Linked DNA regions of Homo sapiens: regions 1, 3 and 4 are each linked to region 2. Evidence: promoter capture Hi-C in 16 types of primary human blood cells and fetal thymus (Javierre and others, 2016). All regions are on one chromosome and are shown on one strand. Each heading gives the region's core, a stretch centred on a gene start or on the middle of the fragment in contact. The rest is flanking DNA. Distances are from core to core; before and after follow the strand shown.

Region 1 (6,185 bases), core at 2,478-4,977, 200 kb after region 2:
GCAACCAGGAATAGGCACCTGCTGCAGGGGAAGCTGCACACTGGGAATTCGGCCACTTCTCTGAGGCTCCTGGCATCCTGGCCAACATGACAGCTTGTGTGTTGCTGCCGGTCTCCCAGCCCAGTGACACCACGCCAGCTCTGGTTGCCACCTTCTGTCAGGCCTTAGGGCAGGACACCAGCAAATGGCCCAACAGGAAAAAATGTTGTGAACACAGGACTCACCTTTATGCAAGTCTCATCTTACTAGGATTTTGTTTCTTCAAATCCTGGCTGTCTTACTCTCTGATGTCTTCAAAAAGTTTTTTTTTTTTTTTTTTTTTTTTTGAGACAGAGTCTTGCTCTGTCGCCCAGGCTGGAGTGCAGTGGCACGATCTCGGCTTACTGCAACCTCTGCCTCCCAGGTTCACGCCATTCTCCTGCCTCAGCCTCCAGAGTAGCTGGGACTACAGACGCCCACCACCACACCCAGCTAATTTTTTGTATTTTTAGTAGAGACGGGGTTTCACTGTTTTAGCCAGGATGCAAAAAGCTCTTTTTAAAAATATATTTTATATGGCCTTGATAGTTCTTGGGAAAGGTTTGGTCTGATAGCAGTTGCTGCCTCATAGTCAGAAGTGGAAGAGAAGGGAATTTTAGCTTTAAATGAAGTTCAATGTTTTATTATTGCAGGAGTGGTCTTCAAAAAGTTCATGGAAAATGCATATTATGACAAAACTATGCATGCATTTCAAAATTCTTTTGCTCCAAAATAAACTCATACTAACTTGTTAGAACATGCCTGAATAGATCTAGTTTGAGGCAGTAAGAATCAGTTTGAAAAGGGCTCCTAGCAGAACATGAATTCTGCAAAAACTGAAGCAAAAACAAGCATCAAATCTATAGTGAACCTTGGGTGGAAGAATGGTGAAAATCATGATGCTTTACAAAAAGTGTATGAGGACAGTGCCCTAAAGAAGTCAGCAGTATACACATAGATACCTCGTTTTAAGAAGGATCAAGACAACATTGGAGATGAAGACCACAGTGGCAGACCATCCACATCAATTTGCAAGGAAAATATTGATCTTGTTCATGCTCTGATTAAAGAGGACTGACGATTAACAGAACAATAGCCAAGACCACAGACATCTCAACTGGTTCAAAATTGAAGTTGAGCAAGCTTTCCACTCGATGGGTGCCAAAACCGTTGTGCCCAGATCAGCTGCAGACAAGAGCAGAGCTTTCAATGGAAATTTTAAACAAGTGGCATCAAGACCCTGAAGCATTTCCTTGAATTATAACAGGAGATGGAACAGGACTTTACCAGTACCATCCTGAAGACAAACCACAATCAAAGCAATGGCTACCAAGAGGTAGAAGTGGCCTAGTCAAGGCAAATGTGGACAAGTCAAAGTAAGGTCATGGCAACAGTTTCTTGGGATGCTCAATGCATTTTGCTTGTTGACTTTCTGGAGGGCCAAAGAACATTTTTTTTTTTTTTTTGAGATGGAGTCTCGCTCTGTCGCCCAGGCTGGAGTGCAGTGGCACAATCTCAGCTAGCTGCAAGCTCTGCCTCCCAGGTTCACGCCATTCTCCTGCCTCAGCCTTCCGAGTAGCTGGAGTAGCTGGGACTAGAGGTGCCTGCCACCACGCCCAGCTAATTTTTTGTATTTTTAGTGGAGACGGGACGGGGTTTCACCATGTTAGCCAGGATGGTCTCGATTTCCTGACCTCGTGATCTGCCCACCTCAGCCTCCCAAAGTGCTGGGATTACAGGCGTGAGCCACCGCATCTGGCCACAATAACATCTTATTATGAGAGTGTTTTGAGAAAGTTAGCCGAAGCTTTAGCAAAAACACACCCAGGAAAGCCTCATCAGTGTCTTTCTCCACGATGACAATGCTCCTGGCTCATTCTTCTCATCAAATAAGGGCAATTCTTCAAGAGTTTTGTTGGGAAATCATTAGGCATCCACCTTACAGTCCCGATTTTGCTCCTTCTGACTTTGTTTCCTCATTTTAAAAAATCTTTAAAAGCACTCATTTTTTCTTCCGTTAATAATGTTAAAAAGGCTGCACTGACATGGTTAAATTCCCAGAGCCTGCAATTCTTTAGAGGTGGACTAAATGGCTGGTGTCACAGCTTACAAAAGTATCTTGATCTTGATGGAGCTTACATTGAGAAATAAAAATGTTGTTTTGTTGTTGTCATTGTTGGTGGTTTTAAGAGAGAGGATCTTGCTCTGTTGTCCAGGCTAGAGTGCAGTGGTGTGATCACAGCTCACTGCAACCTCAAACTCCTGGGCTCAAGTAATCCTCCTCCCTCTGCCTCCCAAGTAGCTGGGACTACAGGCATGCACTACCAAACCTGGCTAATTTCTTGAACTCCTGGCCTCAAGCAGTCCTCCCACCTCAGCCTCCCAAAGTACTGGGATTACAAACATAAGCCACTGTGCCCAGCCAAGAAATAAAGTTTTTATTTTTTTATCATCTTTTACTTCAGTATTTCCACAAATTTTTTAAAGTCCCTTCGTATAATGACTGGTAATTTCATTCACTGAAGAGACAGTTCTGAGGCTCATACAAAGAGCTTTTTATTATCTGAGACAGACCTGAGAAATTAAGGAACCTGCCTAAAACATCATTTCCAGGCAGGGAAACAAACAGCTCGCAGCTGGGGTTCTGAACGGAGAGGCAAGGTGGGAATGGCTAAGAATCAACATATTTTCTAGTTGCACCCACAGTCCCCTCATTCAAGTAGTGAGAGTCGTGTGACTGTCAGCACTGGGCCTCTTGTCCATCTTCCTGCAGGACTGTCAGCAACTGGAGGGCAGAGACGGTTTGACCATTGAGTGCCGGTTTCAACAAATGTCCACCAACGAAATGAAGGGAATGTATGAGATAAAATGACTCTCCTAGTGTCATTCAGGAAGGGCCATATTTTCTGTTGAGTAAAGCAAGCCCTCATTTTTTTCTGCAATCCCCTTTTATACACTGACTGTTACTCAGAACACTTCAACTAAAAATACAGCAGCATGAAGCTGAAAGCTTAAAAAAACAAACAAAAAAAACCCCATAAAGGCAGGCTAGCTCAAGGGCCAGCAAACTTGCTATTCTGGAAAGGGCCAAACAGTGAGTATTTTCAGCCCTGTTTGTCCCTTTCAGTGGGCCTGTGGTCTCTGTCACAACTATTCAGTTCTCCCGTCGCAGCCTGAAAGTAGCCAAGACACCATGTTAAAAAAACAGCTGTGACTGTATTCCAAGAAAATTTCACTTAGAAAAATGGGCAGAGTGCCGGACTGGGTCTGTGGTTGCAGCTTGCCAATCGTGGACTAGACTATATGCTCTGTGAGACTAGAGACTGTGTCCACGGAAATCTCTGTTGCATTCCAGGAACTAGCCCAGGCCCTGGAAAAGGGAGGGCACTTCATCTCAGTTGAATGAATGAGTGGATACAATTCTGCTACAGTTAGTTGTGCTGGCTTGTTTTGGAGAGAAAATCCATGAAGCTCAATATCCCAAAATTCTAAGGATATTACCATTCCAAATACAATCTTAAGAAACACAGGACTGCAAGCTGGTCGTGAGCACAGCTAAGCAAGAACTGTGGCTCCCTCCTATCCTGTGCGCAACCCTTTCTACACCAGGATGACACTGGCCAGGGCTGCTGGCGAGGGAGAGATGGGTGGGCCATGGACCCCACCTCCTCTGCAGCCTCACGGGCACTGTCCCTGACCAGCACTCCTGGGCACTCTGGAAGCAGGCTGTTCTCACGGGAACAAGCGCACAGCTACCGGGTAAGAGGACACCAGGAAGAGCGTGCACAGAGGCTGCGGCCAAGGCAACCCCTCAGGGCTGCCCACCGGCTCCTGCATTCTGGCACCACTTGAACACGAGACCTGGAAAGTCATCACCATGGCCATGATCAGAACTGTTGTTGTAAGAATTACATCTCCACTTCCCTGGAGCCCTGTCTGGGGTTAAGGTGAAATTTCAAATGCTGCCCAAGTATGGGCTCTAGATAATGGACCACAAAGAATATGCCTGTTTTCTTATCCTAAAAATAAAAAGCCAGTGTCTGCCAGCACTAGAAAATTGCAAATAAGAAGTTTAATTTCAGAAACTGAGTTCACCATTTATAAATACACTAAAACATAGTCAATGCAAATTTAGATTAAGCGTACGTACAGTATTTCAACAAAACAACTTTTCTAAAAGGTCGTAGGCAAATGAGTGATTAGTCTCACTCAGAATATTTAATTGGTTTAAAATGAGAAAATGAATCTTTTTTTCTCTGAAGACATAACTTTTAAAATCATCTGACAACTGACACTTCACTCTGATGTCCTTGGGATTTGAAAATATCCCAGTGATGGCCGCATCTTCCCTATCATAAAAAAATCTAAACACTAAGGCTATTCTTACAACTGGAATATAACAAGCTTCTTCCCTGTTAATAAGCCATCTCTTCTAAAAAAATTTTACACAAATTTGATCAAACAAGGGGGTCAGTGCACACATTTTGAAAGACAGCTTCAGAGCGTGGAGATGCTGAAGCGGAGGCGTGGGGGTTTCAGCAGGGACCACCTGCCATCAGCGTGTCATTGAACGCACTGGCGAAGTGATGAGCACAGTTACAAAGGGATCACATTTCAGAGGAGCTGATGATAAACAGCTGGGGTATCTCTGAGTTAACTGACCATGTAAAGCCTGAATGCAGAAACCTGAAATGGGAAAGTTCTCAAAATAAGCTCCATGAAACATCTAAGTTTCGTTTCCAAATGCCACGTCTCTGTCGTAGTAAACAGTTACCTTCCAGAATATTATCTGTACTCCGCGGGACACTTTAGAACCTGCGGTTAAAAACTGCTCAGTCAGGATGGCTTGCCCTCCACCTCCTATTTACAGATTTCATTTGATAGCCACAAAAGCTATTCTGTTGCAATTAAAGCAATGCTTCACTAAAATACAGTACCTGATTTGTGGTTTGTACATAATTGAGTAAAAAGCCTACAGAATAAAATGGTTTACATCTTCTTTGTCATTCTAGTAAAACAAATTACTAACCCAAAACTTTAAAAAACTTTACGGTTATGAATTAAAATCTAGTCACCATATTTCATAGTTGACAGGACAAGCTATTTCTAGTGGACGTCTTAATAAAACACCCCGCGAAACTTGGCCTGAAGGAGAAGGGGTAAGGCACGTGGAGACACTGTGGTGAGCTGGAGAGCGGCCCTGAGAGTGCCTGGTCTGATGTCGTACACAGCCGTGGGCAGAGCGGGTCATAGACCTGGTACAGGCTGCTAACGCTGGGGCAGCCACGCCTCTGGCCTAGTGGTGCCGTCGTGAGTTTCAATACTGAAAGTATATTAAGGGAAGATTCACTTTCAAAAAGATAAGTTTTTCAAAATGTTCCATCATGAGCCTGGATTGGCCAAGGCTACCGTTCTCAGTGGGTGTGTTGAACAGCTTTTCTGAAGGGACGATGCTTGGGGGGCAGCCCAAAAATCTGACGGCCAGCGCGGACAGCCCCGGCCAGGACGCCTTCTTCAGGTTCCAGTAGGTGAGCGGGTCACAGCTGTGTTCAAGCACCTCCTCCTCCAGATACGCAAGCACCATGGCTTCAGGCAGCTTTTCTCTTGGGTCTTTCTTCTTCACCTTGGCCACAAGTGACCACAGGTTCTCCTCTGCGGCAGAGTCTTTCGACGGGGAGCCAGCATCACACCTGTGGGAGGCAGCCACGTCCTCTGAGGTAGAATTCATGAGTTCGAGTTCCCTGATTAAATCCTGTTTGTACTGCTCCGCCTCCTCCTCCGTAAACAGGGAGGCCTTGTAGCGAGGATCCAGCAGCGTGGCGAAGACGTACCGCGGGTCGTGGAGGGTGGCAGACAGGCGGCTCACCATGGCCTCCTTCAGAGAGCGCAGCATGGTGTCGATGCCCATCGTCTCCTCGAAGAGCATCTCCACCTTCCTGTTGAGGATGTGTACCATGGGGATGACCTGGCTGAGGGTGGACATCTGCGTGCTCATCTCCCGGCTCGCAGCCTCGAAGGGCTTTAGCGCACGGCACACGGACTGCATGACCTCCCACTGGTCGCAGCTGATCAGCTCTCGGAAGTTACACTCGACGGACATCTCGTTAATGGCCCTTTTCTGCTCAATGAGCCGCTCGAGCATGTGGAAGGAAGTGCTCCACTTGGAC
Region 2 (5,697 bases), core at 3,142-5,641:
TCGCGTGGGTGGGCGGAGCTTCGAGCGGGTCCGCCTTCTTGCCGCCCACACATTAGGGAAAAGTGCGCTTTCACCACCCAGAGTGATGTTAGGAGTCGTTTTTTGTTGGTGTTTTTTATCAAGTTGAGGAAGTTCCCTCTATTCCTGTTTTTCCAAGAGTTCTTATGAGTGGGTGTGAAATTTTCTGCAACGCTTTTCTGCATGTATTCAAATGATCCTGTAGCTTTTTATTTCAGCCCATAGGGAATTACATTGTTTGGCTCTCCTTGGAAAACTCACTTGGTCACGATTCGTTATCCTTTTGGTGTATTGCCTGACTCAGCTTGGTAACGCTTTGTCCAAGGTTGGGGACGGTGCTGGTGAAGCAGATTGCTCTGTGGCCGACCTCCCGTTTTCTGTGTCTGTCTGGTTTGGGGTCGGTTTAAGCCGGGCCTGCAGTGACCTGGGAGTAGGATGGGGTAACTTATTCCCTAAAAATTGTGGTAGTATTCGCTGGGGAACCCATTTGGGCTTCGAGATTTCTTTGTGGGAAGGTTTTTAATGAGAAATTCACTTCTGCATCAGCTAGAGGGCTATTCAAGTTATCAAGGTAATATTGAATAAACTTTGGTAATTCTTTTAAGGAATTTGTCCATTTCATCCAATTATTAGATGTCAGATTATTGGCATAAAGTTGTTCAGCATATTTCCTTATTATCCTTTTAACGTCTGTATGGTCCATAATGATGAGCCATCTTTCATTCTTGACATAGGTAATTTATCTCATCCCTCTCATTTTCCTTGATCAGTCTATATTTATCAATTTTATTGAGTTTTTAAAAAAAATCATCCCTTGATTTCATTGATTTTTCTCTATTTTAAAAATATCTTTACACTTTGCGAGGCCAAGGTGAGCAGATCACTTGAGGTCAGGAGTTCGAGACCAGCCTGGTCAACCTGCCAAAATCCTGTCTCTACAAAAAAATACAAAAAAAATTAGCCAGGCATGGTGGCGCATGCCTGTAATCCCAACTACTTGGGAGGCTGAAGCAGAAGAATCACTTGAACCCAGGAGGTGGAGGTTGCAGTGAGCTGAGATCACACCACTACACTCCAGCCTGGGAGACAGAGCAAGACTCTGCCTCAAAACAAAAACAAAAACAAAATACGTATATATATCTTTACTATTCCAGTGGTTTCTGTTTTTTATTATTTCTTTTTTTTTTTTTTTGAGATGGAGTCCTGCTCCGTCGCCCAGGCTGGAATGCAGTGGCATGATCTTAGCTCACTGTAGCCTCCACCTCCCGGGTTCAAGTGATTCTCCTGCCTCAGCCTCCAGAGCAGCTGGGATTACAGGCGTGCGCCACCACGCTGGCTTTTTTTTTTTTTTTTTTTTTTTTTTTTTTTTGTATTTTTAGTAGCGACAAGGTTTTACCATGTTGGTCAGGCTGGTCTCGAACTTCTGACCCGCAGGTGATCCACCCGCCTTGGCCTCCCGAGTGCTGGGATTACAGGTGTGAGCCACTGCGCCCAGCCCCGACTTATTTTTGATTGACATAGCTTTATTTTCCTAGGTCAGATCTGTCAGTCTGATGACAGCCTGGACCTTGCCTGTCCATGGATGCAGAGTGTACTGATAGTTCTTGCTGTGGGAAGGGAGAGAGTGGCGCACTCCCTAGCATTTCAAATCCCCGCTAAGCCTGTGTCTTGGGCTGGGTGCTGGAACACATACAGGAGCCAGCAGGGTCCCAGGGACCTACTGGTTGGTGGGAGATTAGCTTGGAAACAAGAGCGAGCTGCATGAGGGCTGGTGGCTCATGGGCTCCCTGCCAGGGCAGCTCGCAGCGGGTGCTGTGCCTGCAGGGCTGCCCCTCAGCTCCCCAGCTCGGGCCACTCCCTGGGATTCTGGACTCAGTAGACCCGGCAGATGCCCACAGACATCTCGGCCTCATCATGTCCAGAATGGAACTCCAGATCCTCGCTCCACACCTGCTCCACCCTGGTCTTCTCATCTCTGTCCTCACTGCTCAGACAGAACTCAGCAACGTCGCCCTGACAGCAGATTGCGTCCGCTCTTCAAACCCTGTTCAGAGCCCAGTCCCTCCTCACCACTTGCCCACTGCCACCTCAATGCCAGGCAGCACCTGCTCCTCCCACCCCCCAGCCTGCTCTCCACCCAGTGAGTGACCGGATGCTGCTCTGCCCAGACCCCTCCAGCAGGTCTGTCTCAGAGTTGAAGCAGAGTCGTCTCCATACCCACAGGTGCTGGCACCTGGCTGTCCTACCTGTATCCCCCTTGCATGGTCCTCGCCTGCCTTCCCCAACCTGTGGCCTTTGCTTCAACTCTGCCAGCCTCCCCTCCCTGCCTCCTTCTCACTGAGGCCTGCCCTGGCCCCTGCAAACAGCAGCCCCTCATTTCTCTCCCCTGACTTCTTTTCCCTCATAGAGGAAATCATGTGTGTCACTGGATGCATTAGTCTGTTCTCACGCTGCTATAAGGACATACCCAAGACTGGGTAATTTTAGAGTCAAGTCCTTATAAAGGAAAGAGCTTTAATTGACTCACAGTTCCACAGGGCTGAGGAGGCCTCAGGAAACTTACAATCATGGTGGAAGGGGAAGCAAACATGTCCTTCTTCACAAGGTGGCAGGAAGGAGAAGTCTTGAGCAAAAGCGGGGAAAGCCCCTTATAAAAGACCATCAGATCTCATAAGACCTCACTCATTGTCAGGAGAACAGCAGCATGGGGGTAACCACCCCCATGATTCAATTACCTCCCACCGGGCCCCTTCCACGACATGTAGGAATTATGGGAATTACAATTCAAGATGAGATTTGAGTGGGGACACAGCCAAACCATATCACTGTATAACACACTAATTTGTTTATCCTGTGCACTCCTGTGCCCCCAATGAATGTAAACAGCCTATAGGAAGGACGTCACTTCTTTGTCCACCCCATAAATGTTTGTTGAATGTTGAATGATGATGGGACATCAGCAGGCAGAGGGATGAAGGGCATTTTAGGAGCAAGAATTTGTTGGAAGATTGTATGAAAGAACAGGGCCTGTTCTAGAAACTAGTGTTGCCAACAGAAACTTGGGAGCATTTCTCAAGTGATGACTTATGATCTGGGAAGCTGAGGGATTTGCTCTGCAACCTCTGGTTCAGGGCAGCTTGTTTGTATTTCTAAGTGGAGAGCAACTTTTGAAAGAAAAAAATGTTGAAATCCGATTAACATTTTTTTCCAAACAAAAAGAAACACAGGAGGATTCGATCCAGTTGGACCCACTCCCACTAATCCCGTTTATCGCTTTAAAAGATAGTGAAGTTTGGGAGGTTTCTCAATCCATTAAAATGAGTTCTTGACTTCACAGATTATAGTTTTTGAAAATTATTTCTCATCCTTGCTTGATTGAAATGAAGACAACAGAACATTGGCTGTGGTGGCTGGCACAAAATTAACTAACCCTAAAATACTAGTATAGCTTAAACTTTCGTTTATTGCTAAAAATTTATCACTGCTGTTTCCTGTGGGGGTGAGGTTGAGCAAAGTGTTTTGAGCTGCATTTATGCGTACTTGACACTTACGCATTTTGATCGAGGTGATTTAGTGGGCATTTTCACTGGGACAGGGATGCTTGTATGTGTAATCTTACTAAAAGCTAATAAAAACTTACTAAAAGCTAATAAAAGCTTACTAAAAGCTTCTTGCTTGATTGAAACGAAGACAACAGAACATCCCATGGTCTGGAACCTGATGACTTTGCTCAAGTTTTAATGTGGGTTCATGGTTTAAGGAGCTGGTTTTTCAGAAACTTTAGTTTGAGCCTTTTTACAATGTGCACAAAGAACCCGTTGCTGTAGTTGTCAGGGTGCCAGTGTCTCTGGGCGACACACATTACTGTGGTTTTTCTCTGCTTGGTGAGCAGAGATAAAGGGGGCAGCAGGACCGGGCCCACCAGCCATCCGGGCTGCCCACGCAAACCACAGGGCCGAATCCGGAGCCGCCCAAGGCCACACAGCTAAGCCGAGTGCGTGAATGCTTATGTGACCGTGTGAAGGAGGTTCCCACCGTGTGGCTGTGGGGGATGGAAAAAGGCTACTTGGAAAGATGTAGAAGACCTTCGAGTAAACAGTTACGTTTCAGAAACAGAGCCTGCTCAGAATGTGTACTTGGTGGGATTCTATTCTTAGGGACGCTTCTTTCTTCTGAGAGACCCGAGCTCTGTGGCGAGTGGCACAGGCAGGGCCCCTTCCTTTCCTAGTTGGGTTCTGACAGCTCCGAGGCAGTGGTTTACACAACCAACACGAAACATTTCTACGATCCACCCGATTCCTCCCCTCATTGATATTCAGGAAGCAGCTCTCCTTCCCCTGCCTTCAGCTCAAGTTTGCTGAGCTTTTGTTTCATTTGTGAATACTTCTTGCTGGAAGTCCCTCACCCAGAGACCAGTGCTCCCAACGGCAGAGCAGCGGGGGAGGTAAGTGCTCAGACATTAAGCCGTTGAGTAGAGGCATGTTTTGCAATCTCTCGTTTAGCTACCAATTGGAGCAGTTTAACGTGCTTGAGTCCCCGGCGTGATGTGTTCATGGACGAAGTTGCCGATGGATGTTGTCAGGTGTTGCACCTGGAGGGCCCAGATGGATCAATGAGGCATTTAAAGTGTAGAATCTCACCCTGAACCCAGACTATTCAGGTCCGTTTTTCTAGGAAAGTTATTTCTTTTTCACTTTTAGATTCAAGTGCTCATTTTCTTCTTCAAATTTAGAGCACTTCAGTATGAACAATATTTCTTTTGTTAAAAAATATTTCTTGGAAACAACTTATTGAAGTTTCCTCAGAGTGGCCAAAGCCGATGATAATTTTATTCCAGATAAAGAACTGGTGACACGTGGCTGTACATTCAGCACAGCTGTGGTGTCCCCAAGTGCCATGACCCAGGAGCCATTCAGAGAGGAGCTGGCCTATGACCGGATGCCCACGCTGGAGCGGGGCCGGCAAGACCCCGCCAGCTATGCCCCAGACGCGAAGCCGAGCGACCTGCAGCTGTCGAAGAGACTGCCCCCCTGCTTCAGCCACAAGACGTGGGTCTTCTCTGTGCTGATGGGGGTGAGTAGCTCCACACTAAGCCCTTGGAGGGCCACGAGCATCTGGTCCCTCTGGTGACGGACTGCAGCGCCCTGGAGCCCCAGGTGGGACAGAGAGAGCAACTCTCAGACTAACCCTGCTGCTGCAGAACTCTTGGATGCCGACGAGCTTGTTTTGCTTGTGTTTTCACAATTATTTTTATTAATTTATGGGTGTCTGTTGTGCCAGCCTTGAGCTGCTCCAGGTTGTGGCTTAGTCCCACCAGGGTAGGGACAGTCCCAGGGCCATGAATGGGCCCCAGGAGTCTCCATGACCCTCGGCTCTGGGGGCCCAGGGTCCTCTGAGGGGTCACCTGCAAAGGTGGGAGGAGGCGTCTCAGGCCTTCAGGTCGGCCCTCACAGAGAGAACCTCAGGGACCTCCTCCTCCTAGGGAGGGCCTCAGGGGCCGGCTGGGAGGGAGCTGGGGAACAAAGGAACAGGTCTGGGGTGGACGGGCAGCGCCAGATGTCCGAGGGATTTCCCTGGGGTCCTGGCCATTCCCTGCACAGTCGTGGGCACAGAGATGATTGGAGGAGCCACTTGGGCCTGAGTGTGTGCAGCTGCTCAGAGCCATGCTGCAGGACAGGC
Region 3 (5,658 bases), core at 2,759-5,258, 230 kb after region 2:
CACAATTTAAAGGGCCAGTGAGCAAAGTCGCATCCGTCCTCATGGGACAGCCTCCGCCCACAGTGCAGCACACAGCATCACCTGCGCCCCAAACGTGCCCCTGTATCAAATCAGGCCTCCCACCGCCAGATCACAGGGGGTGCTCCGGGGGCACCGGAACGCAAAGAGACCTCACAGCCACTGTGACACGTGGCCCTGTACTCGATTCTGGTTGGGAAAAACAGCTAGTAAAGACGTTGGGGGACAACTTCAGACCGTGGACTGGCTACTGGATGACGCCAAGGGACACAGTCACGTTTTGTAGACGCCATCGATGACGCGACTGTCATTAGACAGTAGAATGTCCCTTTCCCTTTCTTAGGAGAAAGAACACTTAGAGAAGTGTCCAGATATCTGCAGTTTCCTTCAAGACAGTTCAGCACGTGCCAGGTGGCAGCTGGTGGCAGTCACGGTAGCTCCAGCTGGGGGCAAGGGACGTAGGAGTGCCAACTCTGTAAGTTAGAAACTTTATAATAACCTTCAAACAACAGAAATATATTCGTGTTCAACTCAGAGCACACGCACTCTCAACAAGCTGTCGAGTATACCCAGGGAGGCAAAGAGCTATGCATCAAGACTCCGGGCCTGGTTCAGACGGGGACATGGCAGTTTCTCCTCCTGAGGACATAAACTACCATCGGGGCTACACCTGAGTAGCCTTCACCTATTCTGGGGGTGCACAGCAGCATCAACTGCCACAAATTCCAGCAGGAGCCATGGCTCACAACAGCTGCCCACACAGAAGCCAACATCCAGGTCTGGGCTAAACTGAGAAGGGGGCCGGGCACGGTGGCTCACGCCTGTAATCCCAGCCCTTTGGGAGGCAAAGGCGGGTGGATCACCTAAGGTCAGGAGTTTGAGACCAGCCTGGCCAACATGGTGACAGCCCATCTCTACTAAAAATACAAAAACTGGCTGGGCGCGGTGGCTCACGCCTGTAGTCCTGTCCTGGCACTTTGGGAGGCCAAGGTGGACGGATCACGAGATCAGGAGATCGAGACCACCCTGGCCAACATGGTGAAACCCCGTCTCTACTAAAAATGCAAAAAAAAATTAACCGGGCACGGTGGCGCACGCCTATTGTAATCCCAGCTACTCAGGAGACTGAGGAAGGAGAATCGCTTTAACCTGGGAGGTAGAGGTTGCAGGGAGCTGAGATTGTGCCATTGCACTCCAGCCTGGGTGACAGAGCAAGATTCCATCTCAAAAAACAAACAAAAATTAGCTGAGTGCGGTGGCGGGTGCCTGTAATTCCAGCTACTCAGGGAGCTAAGGCAGCAGAATCACTTGAATCCAGGAGACAGAGGTTGCAGTGAGCCGAGATTGTAACACTGCACTCCAGCCTGAGTGACAGAGTGAGAATAAACAAACAAACAAACAAACTGAGAAGGGGAACCCAAAGCTAAAGGTCAAAGACAGTGGCAAGGGGTCTGACTCCAGAAACCCGGAGTCAGAGCTGCTCTGTCAGACGTGCTCAGGAACCCAGGTAAGGGCGTCTTGGAAACGGCACCTTCCAGAGCAAGCCAGCGACCACGCTAAGGTCAGCTGGTCCGTGTTCCATCCCTGAAATGTTCTGGGTCACACGACAGGGTCATGTGGATTGTTCTGCTAGGTGGTTTTGTGGGTCCCCTGTATTTAACACCAGCACCCTCGCCGTGTACCCATACCTTGGGGGTCCGGGCAGTCCCACTAGTGACAGGCCTGACATCGCAGCTATGGCTGAACGCTGCTGGGGAGTCTCTCACTTACAGGATGTGGAGCATGGCTTCTATGACGGAGCAACCAGAGCTCTCCGAAATGCACATGCTCCCGACCCTGCTCCCTGCAGCAAACAGGTGGAGCAGAGACCACCAGGTGGGCCTCGATGAGGAGCAGCTTTGGAGGAAGTCAGCCCCTCAGGGTTTGTCTGTGGAGGTGGCAAGGCAGGAAGGGCGGGGGGCCAGGTCCTCCCGACCCTAATCAGGTAGGGGGCTGCAGCAGTCACAACCCCATCCCCAGGGCCAGGCCAGCATCAGCTGTTTCTATTGCACACAGAGTTTGCTGGGAAAGACATGGGCCATGGCTGCTGAAAAGCCTTCACCTAGAATGAGGTGGGAAGCTGGCTGGCATTGCAGCGCGGCCTTCACCTAGAACGAGGGGTGGGAAGCCGGCCGGGATTCCAGCGCGGCCTTCACCTAGAACGAGGGGTGGGAAGCCGGCCGGGATTCCAGCGCGGCCTTCACCTAGAACGAGAGGTGGGAAGCCGGCCGGGATTCCAGCGCGGCCTTCACCTAGAACGAGGGATGGGAAGCCGGCCGGGATTCCAGCGCGGCCTTCACCTAGAACGAGGGATGGGAAGCCGGCCGGGATTCCAGTGTGGGTCATTTAGGCTGCATGTCCCCTGAATTCCGAAACAACCCGGGGGAGCTGGGAGGCGGCTTCAGCAGCAGGCGCTTGGGCCGGGCAGGAGGTACGCACTGGGATGCCGTGAGGCTGCCTCTGCACCTCATGGACAATGCTCTCCTGGGGCTTCCGCCATCGCCCCCAGACCCTTCAGGGCAACCTCCTCTCCCTATGAGGTCTCCGGAGCATGCTTTCCTGAGAAACTGGGATTACCCCTGCTCTCACCTGCCGGTGTTTCTCCTTGAAGCACTTACTGAGCCTTTTTCTCTGGTTTACGCTGCTCCTCACCACCACCATGTTCCCTACGGCCAGGGCCTTCTTTGAAAACCACCATGGCCCCAGCAGGCAGAGAGGCAAGCACCTCTGTCTCTCCTGCTCCCCTCCGCCTCAGAAATGGCAAAGAGCTTATTTTATTCCTAACAATGCCTCCCAGAATTTGAACTACAAAAGCACATATCCAGTGATGACCAAGGAAGGGATCTGAGGTACTGCAGAATGTAGAAAAACCTAGGTGCTAAAAAGTGGGGAGCAGAAGGGCCTGGAAGGCTGGGATGCAGAGAGGCCCGAATCCTTGAAAGGGCTGAAGCCAGAGAGCTGCTGGAATCCACAGACACTAAAAGAGAAAGCCAAAACCAAACCGCTAAGGGGTGTCACGGGCTAAAGGCACAGTGACTTTCTTACACAGCCAAATGTAAATAAGAGCAATTCCTATAGGTACATTCTCAGGTCCTGAGATTTAAACAGTGAAGGAAACAACGTTGGTAAGGAAGGGCCAGCTTGGCCTCTACCCCAGGGCTGGGCAAAGCCACGCCCAGCTGTTTCACCTGCTCCCTCCTCTCAAAAGACAACCACCACACCAAAGAGAATGAGACCAGAAGCTAAAGCCAGGCAAAGAAAAAAACGCAAAACAAAGTGAAGGACGGCACTGACCACGGTCACTTCCTGCTCCTCATGCCGCCAGGAGTCCACTCCCCAGGGCTCCTCACCAAGGATCTGAGACACACACACACACACACCTTTCGCTAAAGAAGCTGCTTCTCAGCTCCTCTGCACACACACAGAAGTCAGTCCGCTCCCCTAGTAATTTTTTTAGTCTTTCTGCAAGGTGTTATGGACATACTTTGCACAGCTGAGTTACTCACTGTGTGTGTGGAGGGGGTTGGGGAGGAGGTAACCTTAAAGAGCAGAGGTTTTACATCCAACAACATCAACCACCTTATTCAGGAATTACCTGGACAAGAGTGTGTGTTGGGGGAGACCCTGTAACCACCTGTCAAGTGGACTAAAAGTCTTAGGTTTCTTTCCATATAGATTAACTGTGTCCTCACCTCAAAGACCGGGCCTCTGAAGCTTTTTCAAGATTCACAGAATCTCTCTTAACTTGTGCTAGATCTTTTCTTGAAAAAAAGCCAATCATGACAAGCAGATATAATCCGTTTAAGGACTACGGGAAGTGTGCAGCCTTGTACGGACGTCCCATTGGAAACCCTCGGAGTATGGAATCAAACTCCTGTAAACTTTCCTCTTGCAAAGTAACTTTGTTTAGTAATTGCAATTAATTCATAATCAAAATGTGGCTTATTCATAGCACTTAAAAAAAAATCCCAACCAAATCCTTCCTAGCCTCAATTTTGTCACTATGAATGACATACACAGAAAAAATAAAAAACATTTCTGTGTAAAAAGTCGCAGGATGCCCTTGCTTTACCAAACTGGCCTCACTATGAGGTCTGAATGGATTTCTAAAAACGTAATCTGATCAGAGTTAACTTCAAAATAAATAACTTCCCTTTCGACCAACACGAGAACACCAACAGAAGCTTCTGACGGCTCAGCTTGGCCGGGACGTGTTTCCACAGAGGTGCCCGGGTCTACCAGGGCCACCCGGAATAGAAAGGCGCAGAAGGGAGCCCGAGGGGCTGCGATTCTCTTAGCAACGAAGGCGGTGTGGGCCACACAACGGGACAAAAGAAGAAACAAAACTGACTGCGAGCTCATTTGGGTGTAGGAAAACCACTGCAGTCGAAAAACATTTGAAATTATGGTTCGCAAGGCAAGTTACATTTTTATTCATTAAATGTGAACGGTCATCCCCAGAACCACGTACAATAACCTGCCTCGGGGCGCGTCGCAAGGACCCGTCTGGGCTGAGACATGAAGCAGGGCCCAGGTGGCCCTTCCTGGAGGTGGGACGGGAATGACACGTCCAGAGAAGTCCCAGGGACGGGGCTCGCGGGGTTAACTCGACGTGGCCGGGACAGCGCGCTCCCGGCGGACCCGGGCGGCGCCCCGAGCCCGAGCCCCGTCCCGTCCGCCCGGAAGCAACGGCGCGGGCACGTGGGCCAGGCCGGGCGCCGACCCCCGGCACTCGGCCGCTCAGTCGGCGCCGCCCCCGCGCCAGCTGTCAGGGCCGGGGTCCGCGCGGGGGCGGGTCCGGGGCGGCGCCGGGCGGGGACCCCGAGGCCACGGAACCGCGCCCCCGCCCGCCTGGCCCCGGCCCTGGCCCCGGCGCGGCGCAGACAATGGCGCGGCCCGGCCCGGCCCCGGCGCGGTCCGCGGGGGACGGGGCTCGCGGCAGGCGGCGGGGCGGCGGCGCCCGCGCACTCACCTCGGCCCGGCCTCTGGGGCGGCTCCCGGCCGGCTGCGGACGACGGCGGCGCGGGCGGACGCTCCATTCATTACCGCGGCTTTGTCTGCCCCCGCGCCCCTCCCGCGGCCCCGCCGCCCGCCGCCCGCGACGCCGCCGGACGCTGCGCCCCTCCCAGGGCCCCGCGCGGCGCGGGGCGGGGCTGGCCGGGGGCGGGGCCGATCGGGGGCGGGGCCTACTCTCGCAGGCGCAGTGTCCGCGTACCCGCCCCGCCTCGTCCCTGGCCGGGCGGGAGGACGGAGCGCCGGAGGCCCGGCCGCTGGGGCGGGGTCGGGCGGAAGACGCAGGCGCAATGCGCGCTTCGGCTCCGCCCCCGGGTCCAGGAGGGCAAACTACGCAGGCGCAGTGGGCGCTCCGGCGCTGGCGGGCGACGGGAAGGGCTTAGGCGCTCTGGCTGGGCGGGGCGCGGGCGCCTTGGTTTCGTCCCGTGGCTTGGCAGTTGGCAGCGGCTCGGCGCGCACCCAACGGCCCACCGCGGGTTTCCGGGACGGCTAGCAGCGCGGTTCCCGGTCCCGCCCCGAACCCCCTTACCTGGCGCAGAGGCCGCTCAGTGCGGTGCGGTCAGGCCTCGTGGGCTGGGACCTAAGCCG
Region 4 (6,191 bases), core at 3,052-5,551, 210 kb after region 2:
CTGATTAGCCTTTTATTTACAAATTGAACTTATAGTTGAAAAACCTTCCCACAGAGAAACTCCCAGGCCCAGATGACTTCAGTGGTGAATTCTACCAAACATTAAAGAAAAAAAAAATACAAATTCTTCCAGAAAATAAAGGAAGAAACACCTCCCAATTCTTTATATCAGCAGCATTACCCTGATACCAAAACCAGCAAAGACATTACAATAAAAGAAACAACTTGATACCCTATGAGCACAGAAAAAAAATCCTTAACAAAACTGTAACAAATTAAATTAAACACTATGTATCAAAGATAATACGTCATGATTCATCACAGGAATAAAAGGTTGGTTTAATAGTCAAAAAATTAAAACAGGCCGGGTGCAGTGGCTCACACCTGTAATCCCAACACTTTGGGAGGCCAAGGTGGGCAGATCACCTGAGGTCAGGCATTCAAGACCAGCCTGGCCAACATGGTGAAACCCCGTCTCTATTAAAAATACAAAAATGAGCCGGGCATGGTGGCACGCACCTGTTTTCCCAGCTACTCAGGAGGCTGAGGCAGGAGAATCGCTTGAACCTGGACGGGAGGTCGAGGTGCAGTGAGCTGAGATCGAGCCATTGCCCTCCAGCCTGGCGACAGAGTGAGACTCCGTCTCAAAAAAAAAAAAAAAAAAAAAAAAAAGGCTGGGCATGGTGGTTCACGCCTGTAATCCCAGCACTTCGGGAGGCCAAGGCAGCTGGATCACGAGGTCAGGAGATCAAGAGCATCCTGGCCAAACTGGTGAAATCCCATGTCTACTAAAAATACAAAAATGGTGGTGGGCCCCTGTAATCCCAGCTACTTGGGACGCTGAGGCAGGAGAATCGCTTGAACCTGGGAGGCAGAAGTTGCAGTGAGCCGAGATCGCACCACTGCACTCCAGCCTGGGAGATAGAGCAAGACTCCATCTAAAAAAAAAAAAAAAATTAAAACAATACATTAGCAAAAGGAGGAAAACCATATGGGCACGTCATTCGATGTAGAAAAACATTTGCCAACACTTCTACCTCTATTCACAGCAAAAACTCTGCACAAACCAGGAATGGAAGGAAACATCTTCAGCCTTATGAGACGCATCCGGGAAACAGTGCAGCTCCCATCATACTCATCAGTGAAAGAGTGAGTGCTTCCCCTCGGCATATTCTATACAGCACTGGATGGGAGTCTGCCCAGGCAGGAGGCGGCTGTCAGAGAAAATCAGAACTGCCTTGATGGGCAGACGACAGGGCCATCGATGTCATAAAGGTTGTAAGGCCTCTACAAAACAGTACTAGAGCTAAAGAGTAAGAGAGTTCAGAGAGGTCACAGGACTCAAGCTCATTCTTGTTCTCGGCACGGGCCAGCTCCCCGGGAATGTCCTAATTTCAGGCATCTCTCCTCCCTGGTGGCAGCGCCGCCCCATTCCCCAGCCCTTATGTTCTCATTCCAGGATGATCTTGTCCTCCACGCTCCTCGCTCCAACCTACAAGGTGGGCCGTGCATCCCTGTGGGTCGAGAAGAACCCAGCTGTTCTCTCTTCAAAACAGACATCTCATTCTAGGTTGGTCTTGACTCTCTCTGAGCCTTTCTTGGGGCTGCAGGGTGGGGGTGATGAGGTGGGAAGACCCAATACCTCATATCACCTCATATCACCGCACCTCGCTTTACTGCTCTTTGCAGATACTTTTTTTTCCCCCAAATTGGAGGTTTGTGGCAATCCTGCATCAAGCACGTCCATCGGTGCCATTTTCTAACAGCAGGGGCTCTCCACCTGTGTGTCACATTTTGGTAATTCTGGCAATATTTCACACTTTTCCATTATCATGGTATCTGTTATGGTGATCTGTGATCAGTACTCTCTAATGCTACCATCGTAATTAACGTGAGCCACCACAAGCCACACCCATGTCAGACAGTGAACTTAACTGATAAATGTGTGTCCTGACTGCTCCATCAACCAGCAGTTCCCCGTCTCTCTCCCTCTCCTCCAGCCTCCCTCTTCCCTGAGACACACGAGAAATTAGAATTAGGCCGATTAATCCTCTACATGTTCAAGTGAAAGGAAGTATCACGTCTCTCATTTTCAAAAGATAGAAATGATTAAGCTTAGTGATGAAGGCACGTCTAAAGCTGAGAGAGGCCAACGCTAGGACTCTTGTACCAACAGCCAAGACGTGAATGCAAAGGAAAGTTCTTGAAGGAAATCCCTGGCTGTAGTGGCTCATGTCTGTAATCCCAGCACCTTGGGAGGCCAAGGCAGGTGGACTGCATGAGCTCAGGAGTTTGTGACCAGCCTGGGCAACATGGCAAAACCCCAGCTCTACAAAAAATTAAAACATTGGCTGGGCGCGGTAGTTCACGCCTGTAATCCTAGCACTTTGGGAGGCCGAGGCGGGTGGATCACAAGGTCAGGAGATCGAGACCATCCTGGCTAACATGGTGAAACCTGTCTCTACTAAAAATACAAAAAAATTAGCCGGCAGGTGCCTGCGGTCCCAGCTACTCGGGAGGCTGAGGCAGGAGAATTCGCTTGAACCTGGGAGGCAGAGGTTGCAGTGAGCCGCGATCACGTCACTGCACTCCAGCCTGGGCGATGGAGTGAGTCTCCATCTCAGGAAAAAAAAAAAAAAATTTAAAAATTAGCCAGGCTTGGTGGCATACACCTGCAGTCCCAGCTACCTGGCAGGCTGAGACGGGAGGTTCGCTTGAGACCAAGAGGTTGAGACTGCAGTGAGCTGTGATCGTGACACTGCACTTTAGCCTTGGTGACAGAGCAAGACCATATCTCTAAAAACAACAAAAACAAAACCATGTGTGATTCCTGGGACGGGAAAATACCAACATTACCAGGAGAATGGGTTGAAGGAAGTTAATTCTAACCCTCATGGATGACTCTGAGGGGCTCAGACTTCAATGGAGGAAGTGACTGCAGATTTGGTGGAAAGGGCAAAAACTAGAATTATACACAGAACCCAAAGATACGGCGGAATTGCTGTACTCTTAGGATAAAACTTGAGTGAATGAGGAGCTGCTGCTTAGGGATGAGCAAAGAAACTAGTTTGTTGAGATGGAATCTACTCCTGGTGGAGATGCTATGAACACTGTTAAAATGACAATAAAGATTTTGGAATATTCTATAAGCATAATTGATAAAACAACAGCAGGGTTTGAGAGGATTGACTACAATTTTGAAAGAAGTTCTACTGTGGGTAAAATGTACACTATGGAGAACTCTTTCATAGAAGAGTTAATCGATGTAGCAAACTTCATTGTCTTATTTTAAGAAATTGTCAGCCGGGTGCAGTGGCTCACGCCTGTAATCCCAGCACTTTGGTAGGCCGAGGCAGGCGGATCACGAGGTGAAGAGTTCGAGACCAGCCTGGCCAACATGGTGAAACCTCGTCTCTACTAAAAATACAAAAATTAGCTGGGCATGTTGGTGTGCACCTGTAATCCCAGCTACTGAGGCAGGAGAATCGCTTCAACCCAGGAGGTGGAGGTTGTAGTGAGCTGAGATCACACCACTGCACTCCACCCTGGGCGACAGAGTAAGACTCTGTCTCAAAAAAAAAAAAAAATAAATAAATAAATAAATTGTCACAGCCACCCCACCCTTCAGCAATCTGCACTCTGATTGGTCAGCAATCTGCACTCTGATTGGTCAGCAGCCCTGGACACCAAGGCAACATCTCCTCCCAGCTGAGATTATGAGTTGCTGAAGGCTCAGATGACTGTTGGCATTTTCAGCAACAAGCTTTTTAAAAATCAAGGTAGGTACATTGTTTTAGACGTCATGCTATTGCACGCTTACCAGACTACATTATACTGAAAATGTAACTTTTTTTTTATTTTTGAGACAGAGTCTCACTCTGTCGCCCAGGCTGGAGTGCAGTGGCAATATCGGCTCACTGTAAGCTTCGCCTCCCAAGTTCAAGCTTTCTCCTGCCTCAGCCTCCTGAGTAGCTGAGATTACAGGTGCGTGCCACCACACCCAGCTAATTTTGTATTTTTAGTAGTGACGGGGTTTCACCACATTGGCCAGGCTGGTCTCGAACTCCTGACCTCGTGATCCACCTGCCTTGGCCTCCCAAAGTGCTGATGAATTAACTTTTAAAAGAGAATTCTAAGCCAGGCACAGTGACTCACGCCTGTAGTCCTAGCACTTTGGGAGGCTTGAGACCAGCCTGGCCAACAGGGTGAAACCCCATCTCTACTAAAAAAAAATATATTAGCCAGGCATTGTGGTGCACACCTGTAATCCCAGCTGCTTGAGAGGCTGAGGCATGAGAATTGCTTGAACCCTGGAGATGGAGGTTGCAGTTAGCCAAGATTGCACCACTGCACTCCAGCCTGGGTAACAGAGTGAGACTCCATCTCAAAAAAAAAAAAAAATCTATCTTTTAAAAATACTTACTGAAATGTAGCTACGTGAATTATGATTTTGGGTATTTGCTTCAAAATAATTGAGTGGATTGTAACAGAAACAAAAATTGACAACTGGGACCTAACTAAAGAGCCTCTGCATAGCTGAAACTATCACAGAAAAGGAGACCATCGACAGAATAAACAGAAAACCCACTGAATAAGAGAAAATATCTGCAAACTATGCATCTGACAAAGGTCTGAAATCCAGAATCTATAAGAAGCTTAACAAGAAATAAAATAACCCCATTAAAAAGCAAGCAAAGGACATGAACAGATACTTCTCGAAAGGAGACATAAAAGTGGCCAACAGACGTGAAAAAATGCTCGACATCAACAGTCATCAGAGAAGTGCAAATCAAAACCACAACGAGATACCATCTCACACCCGTCACAATGGCTTTTATTAAAAAAAGAAAAAAATAACAGATGCTGGAGAGGCTACAGAGAAAAGGGAAACTCAAGCACTGCTGGCAGGGATGTCAATGAGTTCAGCCACTGCGGAGAGCAGTGTGGAGTCTTCTCAAAGAACTAAAAACAGAGCTACCATTGGACCCAGTGATGCCACTACCAGGTATGTACCCAAAGAAATAAATCATTCTACAAAAAAACCCCATGTACACATGTATGTTCATCACAGCACTATTTACAATAGCAAAGACATGGAATCAACCTACGTGCCTAGCAATGGTGGACTGGATAAGGAAAATGTGGTATATCCACACCATGGAATATTATACAGCCATAAAAAAGAACAAAATCATGTCCCTTGCAGCAACATGCATGCATCTGGAGACCATCATCCTAAGTGAACAAACACAGGAACAGAAAACCGGATACCACATGTTCTCACCTATCAGTGGGAGCTAAGCATGTGGTACACAGGGACATAAAGATGAGAACCACAGGCACTGGGACTGCGAGAGTGAGGAGTGAGGGAGGGAGGAAGGGAGGAGGGGACAAGACTGAAAAACAACCTATTGAGTACCATGCTCACGATCTGGGCGACGATCATTCTTATCCCAAACTCAGCATCACGCAATATACCATGTCGTGAACCTGCACATGTGCCTGATGAATCTAAAATCAAAGTTGAAATTCTTTTTAAAAACAAAACTTTTTAAAAAGTGAGTGGAGGACACAGATGAAATGGGAATGGCTGTGAACTGGTAATTCTGAAGCTGGGGATGCGTGCACAGGGTTTATTATGCTACCCTTTCCACTTTTACGTATATCAGATTATTTCCATGAAAGCTATTTTAAGAAAAAAACCAATGAGATACACTGCTGACTTTTTAAGAGAAACAATGTAAATCAGGAGACAGAGGAATGACATCTTCAAAGCTGTGAAAAATGAGAGCCAAACCAGAATTCAGTAAGCAGTACAAATATTCCCTGAGGAATAAACAGGAACTAAAAAACACCATCAGACAAACCAAACACAGAACGTGTCTCTAAGTGACCCACACTAAAGTCCACGCAAGAGTGTTCTCCAGTCAGAGATGAAATAATCTGGTCTGGAGGACGAGCGCTGCCAAAAAGGCCCGAGGTGGATAACCACCACGCGGGTACGAGGTAGGCAGCCGTGCACTCACTGTTACGGGTGCCTCTGCCTTTAGGCCCTTCCAGCGGAAGCACTAGAACCCATAAACACACACACCAACATGCATGTGTGTACGTGAATCAAAGCCACAACTTCACACTGACACCGCCAACTCTGCCCTGACCCTGAGATCACAAGACCGAGCATCCCCCTTTCCA

The links. Contacts are between HindIII fragments. The CHiCAGO score rates a contact against its expected background, and 5 or more counts as called.
Region 1: a fragment that was not itself captured here is called in contact with the fragment with the promoter of MLC1 in region 2 in 7 of 17 cell types (naive B cells, total B cells, endothelial precursors and 4 more); the score reaches 7.9 in naive B cells.
Region 3: a fragment that was not itself captured here is called in contact with the fragment with the promoter of MLC1 in region 2 in 3 of 17 cell types (erythroblasts, megakaryocytes and total B cells); the score reaches 9.7 in erythroblasts.
Region 4: a contact is called between a fragment that was not itself captured here and the fragment with the promoter of MLC1 in region 2, in 2 of 17 cell types (erythroblasts and total B cells). The highest score is 5.8, in erythroblasts.

What each region holds. Positions count from the first base shown.
Region 1 is chr22:49,886,329-49,892,513 of GRCh38, reverse strand. It overlaps ZBED4 (zinc finger BED-type containing 4), which reads right to left. Exons shown (of 2, transcript NM_014838.3): 2 at 2,434-6,185. The coding sequence ends at 5,336. It also overlaps a transcript of ALG12 not described here. Among named protein-coding and RNA genes, the nearest start is that of ALG12, 29 kb to the left of the region's middle. RefSeq lists an enhancer at 3,730-4,231. The HindIII fragment of the contact is 1,394 bases long and covers 3,031-4,424 here.
Region 2 is chr22:50,084,120-50,089,816 of GRCh38, reverse strand. It overlaps MLC1 (modulator of VRAC current 1), which reads left to right and starts at 4,391. Exons shown (of 12, transcript NM_015166.4): 1 at 4,391-4,462; 2 at 4,856-5,091. The coding sequence starts at 4,915. RefSeq lists an enhancer at 4,119-4,743. The HindIII fragment of the contact is 3,674 bases long and covers 3,688-5,697 here.
Region 3 is chr22:49,853,361-49,859,018 of GRCh38, reverse strand. It overlaps ZBED4 (zinc finger BED-type containing 4), which reads right to left and starts at 5,175. Exons shown (of 2, transcript NM_014838.3): 1 at 5,030-5,175. LOC124905147 (a long non-coding RNA gene) reads left to right here and starts at 1,363. Exons shown (of 2, transcript XR_007068156.1): 1 at 1,363-1,525; 2 at 3,733-4,517. LOC105377205 (a long non-coding RNA gene) reads left to right here and starts at 5,507. Exons shown (of 5, transcript NR_188597.1): 1 at 5,507-5,658. RefSeq lists enhancers at 1-79, 1,682-2,342 and silencers at 4,528-4,817, 4,988-5,658. The HindIII fragment of the contact is 470 bases long and covers 3,774-4,243 here.
Region 4 is chr22:49,869,153-49,875,343 of GRCh38, reverse strand. The region is part of intron 1 of ZBED4 (zinc finger BED-type containing 4); the gene reads right to left. It also overlaps a transcript of ALG12 not described here. Among named protein-coding and RNA genes, the nearest start is that of ZBED4, 18 kb to the right of the region's middle. The HindIII fragment of the contact is 711 bases long and covers 3,946-4,656 here.